Regions from separate parts of the Homo sapiens genome. Here region 2 is linked to region 1. Evidence: promoter capture Hi-C in human tissues and cell types (Jung and others, 2019). All regions are on one chromosome and are shown on one strand. The core of a region is centred on a gene start or on the middle of the fragment in contact, and the rest is flanking DNA. Distances in the headings are between cores, read along the strand shown.

Region 1 (5,879 bases), core at 1,013-3,512:
CAGAGCATAAATTCAAATCCTGGTGGTTTGATTAAAGAAAATTAGAAGCTGAAGCATCACTGGAGTAACATCTATACAGTCTCCTAAAGATGAACACTCAGGGTCTCTAATCTACCCCCTCCCCAAATATCCCTGGGGTGAACGTCTCTATATTTGTGCCCTCACAGAGCTGAGTAAGAACATGTTTGGGATATAACCCTAGGGATAGAATCATGAAGTCAAAGGGTCGTGGATACTTTTCTTTGCTGTACTTGAGGCTTCACATCTGCCCCAGGTATGTCTGGCTCCTCCCCCTCCCTTTCCTGGGATAGGCCCATACCACCATGAAAGACCCATACCGCCCCTCCTGGGAGCTGGGACCAGGAGCCCACCACTGTCTGGAGTCACTGAAGAGAAGGAACATCCTCCTAGACTGAGGGTTTAAGACCAAAATAGCCTGTGCCCACTCCCATGTCTGTTCTTGCCTTGTTTATGGAAAGCCAGAAGCTCATGGAATGTGAGGATTGTACAATGACGCCATCAAGAATGTCCAGGCCACATGGCATCAAGGTGAAATCACTCAAGGCTCAAGACCCCCTCTTGGGGCTTGCCTTGGGGCCCTGAATAGTCTGTCCCAGGCCCTGCAGCCAGGTCTGAGTCTTCCAGTCCCTTCCCCTCTCTAGGCCTGTCTCTCCCACAGGTCTGCAGGGAGTGTCAGATGACAATATACTGTGACTTGTAAACCATAAAGTACTAGACATAAGCGAGGAGCTATCATTATATTATAGATCCAAGAGTTGACAATCTCTAGGGTCAGAAATCAGCTGCTTGGGGCTAAGCCCATATAGATAAAATCGGCCCATCCCTCCAAATATAGGCAGTTGGTAAGAGCTAAGTTCGAATCCTGGCTATATTCACAGCTAATTCTGGGACCTTAGGCAACTGACTTTACCTCAGTCTCCTTAACTGTAAAATGGGACTAATAATGGTGTATACCTCATTGCTAAGAGATTACAAGACATGTTGCAACCAATTTGGAAAACAGTTTGCCAGTTCCTCGAAAGGTTAAACAGTTGCCATATGACCCAGCAATTCCACTCTTCCTTATCTATCCAAGAGAAATGTAAACATAAGGCCCCCACACAAAAGCTTGTACCTGAATGGTCAGAGCAGCATTATTCATAATGGCTAAAAACTAGAAACACGCGAATGACCATCACTGATGAATGGAAAAACAAAATCTGGTATAGTCCCAGCTCCCAGGAGGGGCAGTATAGGTCTTTCATGGCGGTGTGGGCCTATCCCAGGAAAGGGAGGGGTGGAGTCAGACATACCTGGGGCAGATGTGAATCCAGAAGCACTGATACATGCTACAATGTGGATGAAACTTGAAAATGTTCAAGAGAAAGAATCCAGACATAAAAGGCCATATATTGTATAATTCCATTTATATGAAATATCCAGAAAAGGGACATCTATAGAAACAGGAAGCAGATTAGTGGTTGCCAGGGACTGGGGGAGCCAGGATGCGGAGTGACTGCTAATTGGTAGGAGTTTCTTTTTGGGGTGATGAAAATGTTCTAAAATTAGAATGTTGTGATGGCTGCACAACTCTGTAAATATGCTAAAAATCATTGTACACTTTAAACGTGAATTTATGGTATGTTTATGTTCCATAAAACTGCTGGGGAAAAGACTACAGGAGAAAGTAGGTAGAGCTTCGGGCGTGCGTGGCTCAGTAAACGCTGGTGATTATTAATAATTAGGTCTCACGAGGTAATTTAAAGCCCCAGAAGCAGTGAGTGCAATGGGACTGCCAGACTTCTGGCTCAGGCTGGGCCTTTAAGCCGCTCTGCGTCCCTGAACTCACTTGGGCCTCCTCAGAGTTCCTCATAAATGAATGGGGCAAACAATCCCTACCACGTCCTTGGGGTCTCGCAGGGAGCGGGGCTCAGGAGGCAGATGAGGAATCCATGGAGGAAGCCCTGGGCCTCCGGCTCGCGCTCTGCAGTAGGTGACAGGCCCCGCTTGGAGCCAACCCGGAAAGGCCCGAGCTCGTCCAGGTGAGTTCTTGTGATTGGCAGCCCGGAGGAGGGCGGGGAGGGCTGCGGTGACGGCTGCCCCGCCCCCTCACTTCGGGCTTGTTGGCGCCCGCCGGGGGAGGGTGGGCGGGGCCCGGGGTCCGCGGCGCCCATTGGGCGTGGGGGGAGAGCTCCGGGGTGGGCCTGGAGCCCCGCCCCCCGGCCTTGCGGCGGCCAATAGGCGCCGCGCGTGGGCGGGGCGTCGGCGGCAGCAGGGCGGCTGAGGTGGCCGCTGGAGCTCAGGCGGCGGGCGCGGCTGGGATGGCGAAGAGCAACGGAGAGAATGGGCCGCGCGCGCCCGCGGCCGGGGAAAGCCTGTCGGGAACCCGGGAGAGCCTGGCCCAGGGCCCCGACGCCGCAACCACCGACGAACTCAGCTCTCTCGGGTCTGACTCGGAGGCCAACGGCTTCGCCGAGCGCCGCATCGACAAGTTCGGCTTCATCGTGGGCTCGCAGGGCGCCGAGGGCGCGTGAGTAGCGCCGGGGGTCGGGACTGAGCGCGCCACCCACGCGAGGGGCCTCGACACGGACGGAGGCGCCCTCGGGACTTGCCGACACGTCCCCCTCCCAGGCAGGGACCACTAATCCCCGTTCCCTCCCCTGCCCCACCCCCACCACCCCTGCCTTCCTAGACCCGCCCCCTTCGCAGTCCTACTTCCGACCCAGGGGGCGGACGGGCCCACACCTCCACCCGCCACCTCCACCCTCCGGACAGACTGACCCGCTCCCAGGAAGGACCGACTGTGCCCTCCTTCCAGCCGTGGAACAGAATGACAGACTGCCCCAAACCCACCCCTGCCGCCAAGACCTTAGGGATGATTGTTTCTGCCACCCCGACAGGCTCCCAGATGGCTGGCGCCCCCCTCCATAGACACTCATTCTCCATCTTTCCCCCTCCCACAAACCCACAGACGCCCTTGTCTCCCCGCCTCACTGCCCCCACACCAGGAGACCTCAGACCGACTTCAGGACTGACTGCCCCGCCCCCACCCCTTCCCAGGACAGACTGACCCTTTCCTCGAGGCATACAGACCTCTGGATGGACAGACATTGGTCACCTCCCTCCCCTCAGCTCCATCCTGGGACAGACAGTCCCTTCTCCTCATGGAAGGGTCGGAGAAGGGCCCCCTATCCGCTCATACACAGCTTCCTCCACTGGCACTGGCAACAGGTGGGCAGGTACTCCCCCTTCCCAGCACGTACAGGGCGACAGGGAGCCCCACCACTAGGACAGACCATCAGCTCCAGCAGCCACAGGAGCCAGTAGATGGGCTCTGTGTATGTCCTGTGTATGTATGCGCCTCCTCCCAAGGGCAGATCTTGGGCGTGGGACGGGGGCAGGCAGGGAGACAGCAGGGTCCCTGCTCATATTAGCACCCCCCGATGTCCTATCCCGAGAGCACCCAGACACCCAGCTAGCAGACAGAGAAATGTGGGGCAGTGGAACAGCACCTTGCCTCCAAGCTGGGCCCCATGTTGCCCCACAGAATCCCCCGAGCCCAGGCCTCAGAGATCATGTGTACAGGCTGGCGGTCCCCTTAGGAAAGATGGACTCCATACCCCACTCCCATCCCAGCTGTCCTGTCACGTGAGACCAGTGTTGTGCACAGAACTGACAAGACTCCCTCCTGATGTGTGCTTTCCATCCCAATCACCAGTAGGAGCTCCTGGGGCCCTGCCATGACCCTACTCCAGAGAATATCCTTTCTCCCTTTCTCTGACCAATTGAGATTGTCCAAGGTCACCCCAGACTCTCTCATGACTTATGGAAGCGCTTTAACTGTCTAAGAACCCCTGTCACTTCCGGGATTTTCCCCAGCCCTAAAGCCTCTTATTCACCAGGCCTCCTTCTTCCTTGGAGAAATCCAGGCCCCTCCCCTAAGGGGAGTTCCCTCTCACCCACTGGATCTGTCTCCTCCAGTATCTCCCTACTGGCTCACAGCAGGCTAGGTTTAGTCCAGGACTCAGAGAGAGCACCCCTCATTCTGAACCCTCACCCTGACTGATGCTTTGTCACAGTTCCCCAGGGATTCACTTGTGAGAACTTAGTGGGGACCTGGAGTGTTTTGAATTGAGGAGCAGTCACCTGGGATTAGGACCCAGGGAGGTGTGTGGTCTTGAGATCTAGGAAAGGAGTTCCCAGTTGCATTTATGGGACCTTGGAAGGAAGAGCTCAGATTTGTGGGAGAATGCTAGGGCATGAGAGTTCCTACTACATGCTTATCAGGCAATCAACCAGATCTTGGGGTGCAGAGCAATGTGATATATTAGGAAAAGGCCAAACTTAGGAATTACACTTGCTAGCTTTGTGACCTTGGGCAAGATCCTGAATCTCTGAGCCTGTTTACTCACTGTAAAGGGCGACAGTAACACCCACTTCCCAACATTACTCTGGGGGTTAAATGAGTATATGATACGTGAAGGTGCCTGGCACAGCGCTTGTCACAAGTAGCGGCCCAGAAAATGTTAGTTTTCTTTCTTTCCTTCTAAGGGTCTGAGAAATGAAGAGAAAAATGAGGGCATATCTCTGGTATTTGTGGGCAGAGTGAGGCCCCAGTGGAAGCACCTCCCTTTGGCTGTAGTCCCCAACCAGGCAGCCAGACATCTGTCTTTCTTACCCCACAACCACAAACCCGGGATGTGGCTCTGCAGACACCCTCTACATGGCTGCTGTCTGTAGGGCTGGGGCTGAGGTGGGATCCCAGCTCCAGTCCTCTCTCCTTCCCTCACTTTCTGGAGCCTGTCAGTCAACCTAAAATCTCTGGTATCTGAAAGCTTCGATGTTCCCTACTTAATTTATATTGTGGTTTCAAAAAAGCCAAGAGTAAGTCCCTGCCCAAGGCCATAGAGGGGAAGTTATGGAAAGCTTCAGGGTGACCGCCCTGAACCCAGTCTCGTGGTTGAAGGCTAGGAGTCCATGTTCTATGCTAGAGAAGTGAAACGTTAGCCCTCATGGGTACTGTGGAGATGGTGGGGACTCTGACTCCAGATTAAAGGTCCATTTCAGCTACCCTGGGCCAAAGGTTGTCTTAAGACATTTTGGATGTGGAAGTTGCCAGGCCTGGGGGTAAGAAAGCAGGTCACAGGCTACCTTACTGAGGTGACTATTAGCTACATGGCATGAGTAGATTAAAAAAACCATAGACTGCACTGTAAGGGATCTTTTTTTTTTGAGACGGAGTCTCGCTCTGTCACCCAGGCTGGAGTGCAGTGGCGCAGTCTCAACTCACTGCAACATCTGCCTCCCGGGTTCAAGTGATTCTCCTGTCTCAGCCTCCTGAGTAGCTGGGAGGCAGAGATTGCACCCATCACCACACCTGGCTAATTTTTCATATTTTTAGTAGAGATGGAGTTTCACCATGTTGGCCAGGCTGGTCTTGAACTCCTGACCTCAGGCGATCCACCTGCCTCAGCCTCCCGAAGTGCTGGGTTTACAGGCATGAGCCACCATGCCTGGCCTGTAAGGGATCTTAATAGATTGACCAGCTCAGCCCTTACTTACATAGATGAGGAAACTGAGGCCCAGAGAGAAGAGTAACTTTCTTAAGATCACAGCATATTAGTGGCAGAACTAGGACTTGGACTTAGGGTTTCTGACTCCCAGGTCAGTACAGTTTCCACTGCCTTCACCATCCATAAATATGGCCTTTCGTCCCTGCAGGATATCAGGTGTCAGACAGGTAGAACAGAAGTGTCTTAGCAGTCACCTGCCTGCTCTTACCTTCCCTGACTTAGCTCAGCACTTTCGACTCTCTCAGCAGTATATGAGGCTAATAGAAGTGGCCCAGAAGGATAAGAATATGTTGTCATTACCAGTTC
Region 2 (5,879 bases), core at 1,164-3,663, 180 kb before region 1:
GCTGAGGTGGGAGCACTGCTTGAGCTTCAGGGGTGGGGGGCGGTGGAGCTTGCAGTGAGCGGAGATTTTGCCACTGCACTCCAGCCTGGGTGACACATTGAGACCCTGTCTTAAAAAAAGAAAAAAAATTATCATTATAAATAATTCAAAATTATTAAAACATCAAAAGAAACAGGTGAAAGTAATATTAATAACATATTTTATTGTCCTATTATATTCAAAAATATCACTTAATATATAATCATTTATATAAAATTAATTAATGAGGCTAGGAGCAGTGGCACACGCTTGTAATACCAGCAATTTGGGAGGCTGAAGCAGATGGATGGCTTGAGCTCAGGAGTTTGAGACCAGCCTGGCTAACATAGCAAAACCCTGTGTCTATAAAAAAATAAAAATAAAAATAAAAATAAATTAGCCGGGTGTGGTGGGGTGAGAATGTAGTCCCAGCTACTCAGGAGGCTGAGGTGGGAGGATCACTTGAGCCCGTGAGGTCAAGGCTGCAGTGAGCCATGATTGCACCACTGCACTCCAACCTGGGTGACAGAGTGAGATGCTGTCTCAGTACATAAATAAATAAAATTAGTTAATGAAACATTTTACTTTTTCTGGTACTAAGCCATCAAAACTTGGTTTGTATTTTACAATTACAGCATGTCTCTATGCTTGTTATGACAAGCCACGTTGTCTGGGCTCAAAAGCCTCTGTGGCTCACGGCCACTGGGTTAGTCCTTTCGGGACTAGAGCTTGGTTTGATTCCATGGGAGGACAGAGGGAACAGGGTCTTGTGGCCTGTTTTACTCTCTCCTTCATCTTCACGTCCCCTCTACTCCTCTCTTGAAAATTCACACCCAGCCAACTTCTGTTTTCTTTTTTTGAGACAGAATCTGGCTCTGTCGCCCAGGCTGGAATGCAGTGGTGCCATCTTGGCTCATTGCACCCTCAACCTCCCAGGTTCAAGCAATTCTTGTGCCTCAGCCTCCTGAGTAGCTGGAACTACAGGCGTGGACGACCACACCCAGCTAATTTTTGTATTTTTAGTAGAGACAGGGTTTCACCATGTTGGCCAGGATGGTCTCAAACTCCTGACCTCAAGTGATCCGCCTGCCTTGGCCTCCCAAAGTGCCAGGTGCCAGGATTGCAAGCATGAGCCACCGCGCCTGGCTGAACTTTTTTCTTGCTTTTCCTAGTGATCTCCGCCTGGCTCTCTTGTGTCAGCCAGAGTGGCCTTTTGGCTCTCCGCCCACTCTGTCACTCTGCCCAGGGCTTCCATTGGTCCACGGCTGGCACCTTGCATGCCTCCACCTTCAGACTGTGGCTCTCACCCAGGAGCTCCGCACTTGGGACACCCTAGGATCTCCACCCCTGCAGCTCCCAGCTCTGGTGACAGCCTCAGTAATAACACAATTCTGAAATATATTCCTACCAGCCAGCACTTACTGAGCAGGCAACGCCAGACATTCTGCTGACCCAGGGTGCGTCCTCTTATCCTTCCAACCATCTTGAGGGCAGGAACCATTTTGCACATGAGGCTGTCCTATCAGTCAGTGAGCACTGACAGGTCCCAGGCTGTGTTCAAGGTCAGGGGAAGGAGCTTGGGGGTCATTAGACAAAAGCCCTGGGGGTCCTAGAGGGTTGAGCCAGGTTTATTAAAAATTCCTCCATGTTGGCCAGGTATGGTGGTTCACATCCCTAATCCCAGCACTTTGGGTGGCGGAGGTTGGAGGATTGCTTGAGGCCAGGAGGTCCAGACCAGCCTGGTCAGCATAGCAAAACCCGGTCTCTATTTTATTCAAAATAAGAAAAAGAAAAAAAAAATTTTTTTTTTTTTTGAGACGGAGTCTCACTCTGTCACCCAGGCTGGAGTGCAGTGGCGCGATCTCGGCTCACTGCAAGCTCCGCTTCCCGGGTTCACGCCATTCTCCTGCCTCAGCCTCCCGAGTAGCTGGGACTACAGGCGCCCGCCACCACGCCCAGCTAATTTTTTGTATTTTCAGTAGAGACGGGTTTTCACCATGTTAGCCAGGATGGTCTCGATCTCCTCCTGACCTCGTGATCCGCCCGCCTCGGCCTCCCAAAGTGCTGGGATTACAGGCGTGAGCCACCGCGCCTGGCCCAAAAAAAAAAAAACATTTAAAAAAAAATTTCCTCCATTTTGCTGGAAAGAGGATCTCAGTGTATTCCCTTTCCTGCCACCTGCGAACAGGCGGGAGCCCCCGCAGTAAGGAGGCCTGGAGGTGGCTGCCTCCAGCTGCCCCAGGCCACTCTCCCGGCAGGTCACCTCCCTGTCCCAAGTAGGGTGCGCTTGGTGACCGCAGCAAAAAATCCTGGAGAGGAGGAGAGAACTGGGCGGGGCGGGGCAGGCCCAGTGCCTCTCCCGTCGGGGCGGGACCAACATCTGGCCCAGGAGGCACAACCAGGCGGCAGCGGATACAAGGCCAGGCGGCGGCGGGCGGGCGGACCTGCGCCCTGAGCCTTTCTGCGCCCGCGGGCACCATGAGCAGCCGAGTCGGGGACCTGAGCCCCCAGCAGCAGGAAGCGCTGGCCAGGGTGAGGAGCATCGCGGGCTGGGAGGCTTGAGGAGGGGCCCTGAGCAGCCTGGCACTGCCCAACCCGGCTGGAGCCCCCATGGTACAGACTGGAACACCGAGCCTGGAGAGAGCGCCTCTGTTCTGCCCTCTGGTCCAGCGTGCGGTTGTTGAGGCGGCTACGTGCAGCACGCGGGACAGGGGCCCATCTCTGCGTGACCAGGAGCCGAATCCAGTCTTCTGACCTTGCGTGCTCTCCACCACCCGGCCCTGGTCCTTGTTCCCCGGTTGTGGGGGAGGGAGTGGCGCTGCCATCCGGCTGCGGGGGCAGCCTTGGGTAGACAGACTGCTTTTCATGTCCAGGTTGCAACATTTGTTTGTTTGGCTTCTCTTTGTGATTTGTTCTTAGGGCCCAAGCTTCTCTGTAATCTTTTTTTTTTTTTTTTTTGAGATGGAGTCTTGCTCTGTCGTCCAGGCTGGAGTGTAATGGCGCAATCTCGGTTCACTGCAACCTCCACCTCCTGAGTTCAAGCGATTCTCCTGCCTCAGCCTCCCAAGTAGCTGGGGCTACAGGTGCCCGCCACCACACCCGACTAATTTTTGTATTTTTAGTAGAGACGGGGTTTCACCATATTGGCCAGGCAGGTCTCTTGGACAGGCTGGTCTCGAACTCCTGACCTTGTGATCCATCCGCCTTGGCCTCCCAAAGTGCTGGGATTACAGGTGTGAGCCACTGCGCCCGGCCTCATATTTCTAATCCCAAATTTGGATTCACAGATTCACCTTCAAACCCAGCCTTTGCCTTCAGCTCTGTTGGTCCCCAGGGAAGTGAGATCTCCTCTCTCTCAGACGCAACAGATGCCCTGATAAGGCATTCCTGGCTTCTCTTTCAGCCCCTGTCTGTTGACCTCTGCCTCTGTTTTTTTTCCACAAAGCCTCCATTGTCCGGGGCATCAGGCAGTCCACGCTGGCTGAGTGCTCACATATATCTGACACCTGCTCGGAGCCAAGCCTGCTAAGTGTTTTACGTGCACAGACTCCTTTGATTGGTACAAGTTTATTTTTATCCCCATTTCAGAGATAAGGAAACTGAGGCTTAGAGAGGTTTGGTAACTTGCCTCTAAATCTAAACCCTCAAGATGCAGTATCAGGGACAACATTCCTAAAACCGCCTAGCTGGCCTGCATCAGACTCTCCCAGGGATCCTTGTAGAAATAAGGCTGTCAGTCGGGCATGGTGGCTCACGCCTGTGATCCCAGCACTTTGGGATACTAAGGCGGGTGGATTGTTTGAGCCAAGGAGTTTGAGACCAGCCTGGGCAACATAGCAAGATCCCATCTCTACAAAAAGTACAAAAATTAGCTGGGCATCTTGTGTGCCTGTGGTCCCAGCTACTTGGGAGTCTGAGCTGGGAGGATCTATTGAACCCGGGAGGCACGGGTTGCAGTGAGCCAAGATCACGCAACTACGCTCCAGCTTGGGCGATAGAGTGAGATCCTGTTTCAATAATAATAATAATAATAATAATAATATAAAAATAATAATAAAATAAAAATTAAAAATAAGGATGCCAGGGCCCCACCTTAGACATGTAGAATGGGAGTCCAGTGTGTAGGGCACTCCCAAATTTTGGGAAGGACCCAACTCTTTTTCCTATGTTGGGCTGGAGGGTGCCCTATTTTCAGATGGCAAAGTCGTTCAGGGCAGCACCCTGCATGGTCTTCTGGTGGAGTTGACTGGTGGATGATGTGGGAAGGGTTAGGGGCGGGGTTGGTGGCCCCCGAGGTCATGAGAGCTCCGCCGACCATCAGATCCTCCTCCGCTCAGTTCCGGGAGAACCTCCAGGACCTGCTGCCCATACTGCCCAATGCTGATGACTACTTCCTCCTGCGCTGGCTGCGAGGTGAGGCTTGCAGGGGTCAGGGGACGCAGAAAGGGAGGGAAGGAAGGAGGGTCTCAGGAGAGGAGTGGGAGACTTTGAGGGAATGGAGCTGTAGGGTAGTAAAGAACACAGGCTTGCCGGGCCCGGTGGCTCACACCTGTAATCCCAGCACTTTGGGAGGCCGAGGCAGGCAGATCACCTGAGGTCGGGAGTTCGAGACCAGCCTGACCAACATGGGGAAACCCTGTCTCTACTAAAAATACAAAATTAGCTGGCTTGGTGGCACATGCCTGTAATCTCAGCTACTCAGGAGGCTGAGGCAGGAGAATCGCTTGAACCCGGGAGGCAGAGGTTGCGGTAAGCCGAGATCCCGCCATTGCACTCCAGCCTGGGCATCAAGAGTGAAGCTCCGTCTCAAAAAAAAAAAAACAAAAAAACAAAAAACACAGGGTCTGGAATCAGCCTGCTCTGACTAGAATCTGAGCTCCCCTGTGTATGAGCACAGCACAAAACCCCACTGAGCCTCAGTTTCTTCATCTGTCAAGCAAGGATGAGGCAACAGGTGGGCACAGAGTCCAGGTGAGGTTACAGTTAACAGCCAGGACATCCTCAGGCCTCTGGCCTGGCCAGCCCTTGGGGCAGATGTTGCAGAGCACTGTTTTCAGTACTTGCCTTTGGGTGTACCTCCAGTTCCCCGAGGACAGGGCTCTGTTGTCCCCTAAAGGAACCGAGGTGCCCTAGTGCACTGAGCAGGTGCCCAGCAAACACTTAAGGAAGTGGATTTAGCGAATGCTAGAGAAGCAGTTTCTTCTAGGAATTACAGCAGCAGTCTAAAAAAATAATAACAAGCCAGATGCGATGGCTCACACTTATAGTCCCAGTGCTTTGGGAGGCTGAGGCAGGCAGATTTCTTGAGCTCAGGAGTTCAAGACCAGCCTGGGCAACATGGCGAAACCTCATCTCTACAAAAAATACAAAAATTAGCCGGGTGAGCTGCCGAGCACCTGTAATCCCAGCTACTCAGGAGGCTGAGGTGAGAGGATCACTTGAGCCTGGGAGGTGGAGGATGCAGTGAGCTGAGATTGTACCACTGCACTCCAGCCTAGGCGACAGAGTGAAACCCCATCTCAAAATAATAATAACAGACACTGCCCCAGAGCTTAGGGAAAAATTCATCTTAACTCATTACACCTCATGGAATGGATTTTGAACTTGAGATGAGTGAGAAGTCAGGAGTCAGCCCGGAAAGCATACATACAGTGCAGGGTTTAAAACGCTGGCTTTGGAATTGGGCAGAGCTGTGACTGAGTTCCAGTGCTAGCATGTGCCTGTGGCAAGCCAGTCATTGTCCCAACCTCACTTTCCTCTTCTGTGTAATGGGCATAATACTGGTCCCTACCTTCAGGGCGCTGTGAGTCAAATGAGGTCGCAGATGCACACAGTACCTGAGAAAAGGAAGTCCCTACCAG

What was found. Contacts are between HindIII fragments. The study calls those that stand out against the background at their distance.
Region 2: a contact is called between the fragment with the promoter of SEC14L4 here and the fragment with the promoter of TBC1D10A in region 1, in 1 of the 25 tissues and cell types used here (stomach).

The regions. Positions count from the first base shown.
Region 1 is chr22:30,323,324-30,329,202 of GRCh38, reverse strand. TBC1D10A (TBC1 domain family member 10A) reads left to right here and starts at 2,262. Exons shown (of 9, transcript NM_031937.3): 1 at 2,262-2,530. The coding sequence starts at 2,322. RefSeq lists silencers at 2,010-2,339, 2,640-2,689 and an enhancer at 2,906-3,855. The HindIII fragment of the contact is 10,227 bases long and covers 320-5,879 here.
Region 2 is chr22:30,502,229-30,508,107 of GRCh38, reverse strand. SEC14L4 (SEC14 like lipid binding 4) reads left to right here and starts at 2,413. Exons shown (of 12, transcript NM_174977.4): 1 at 2,413-2,550; 2 at 4,356-4,431. The coding sequence starts at 2,497. RefSeq lists a silencer at 2,352-2,646. The HindIII fragment of the contact is 16,051 bases long and covers 1-5,879 here.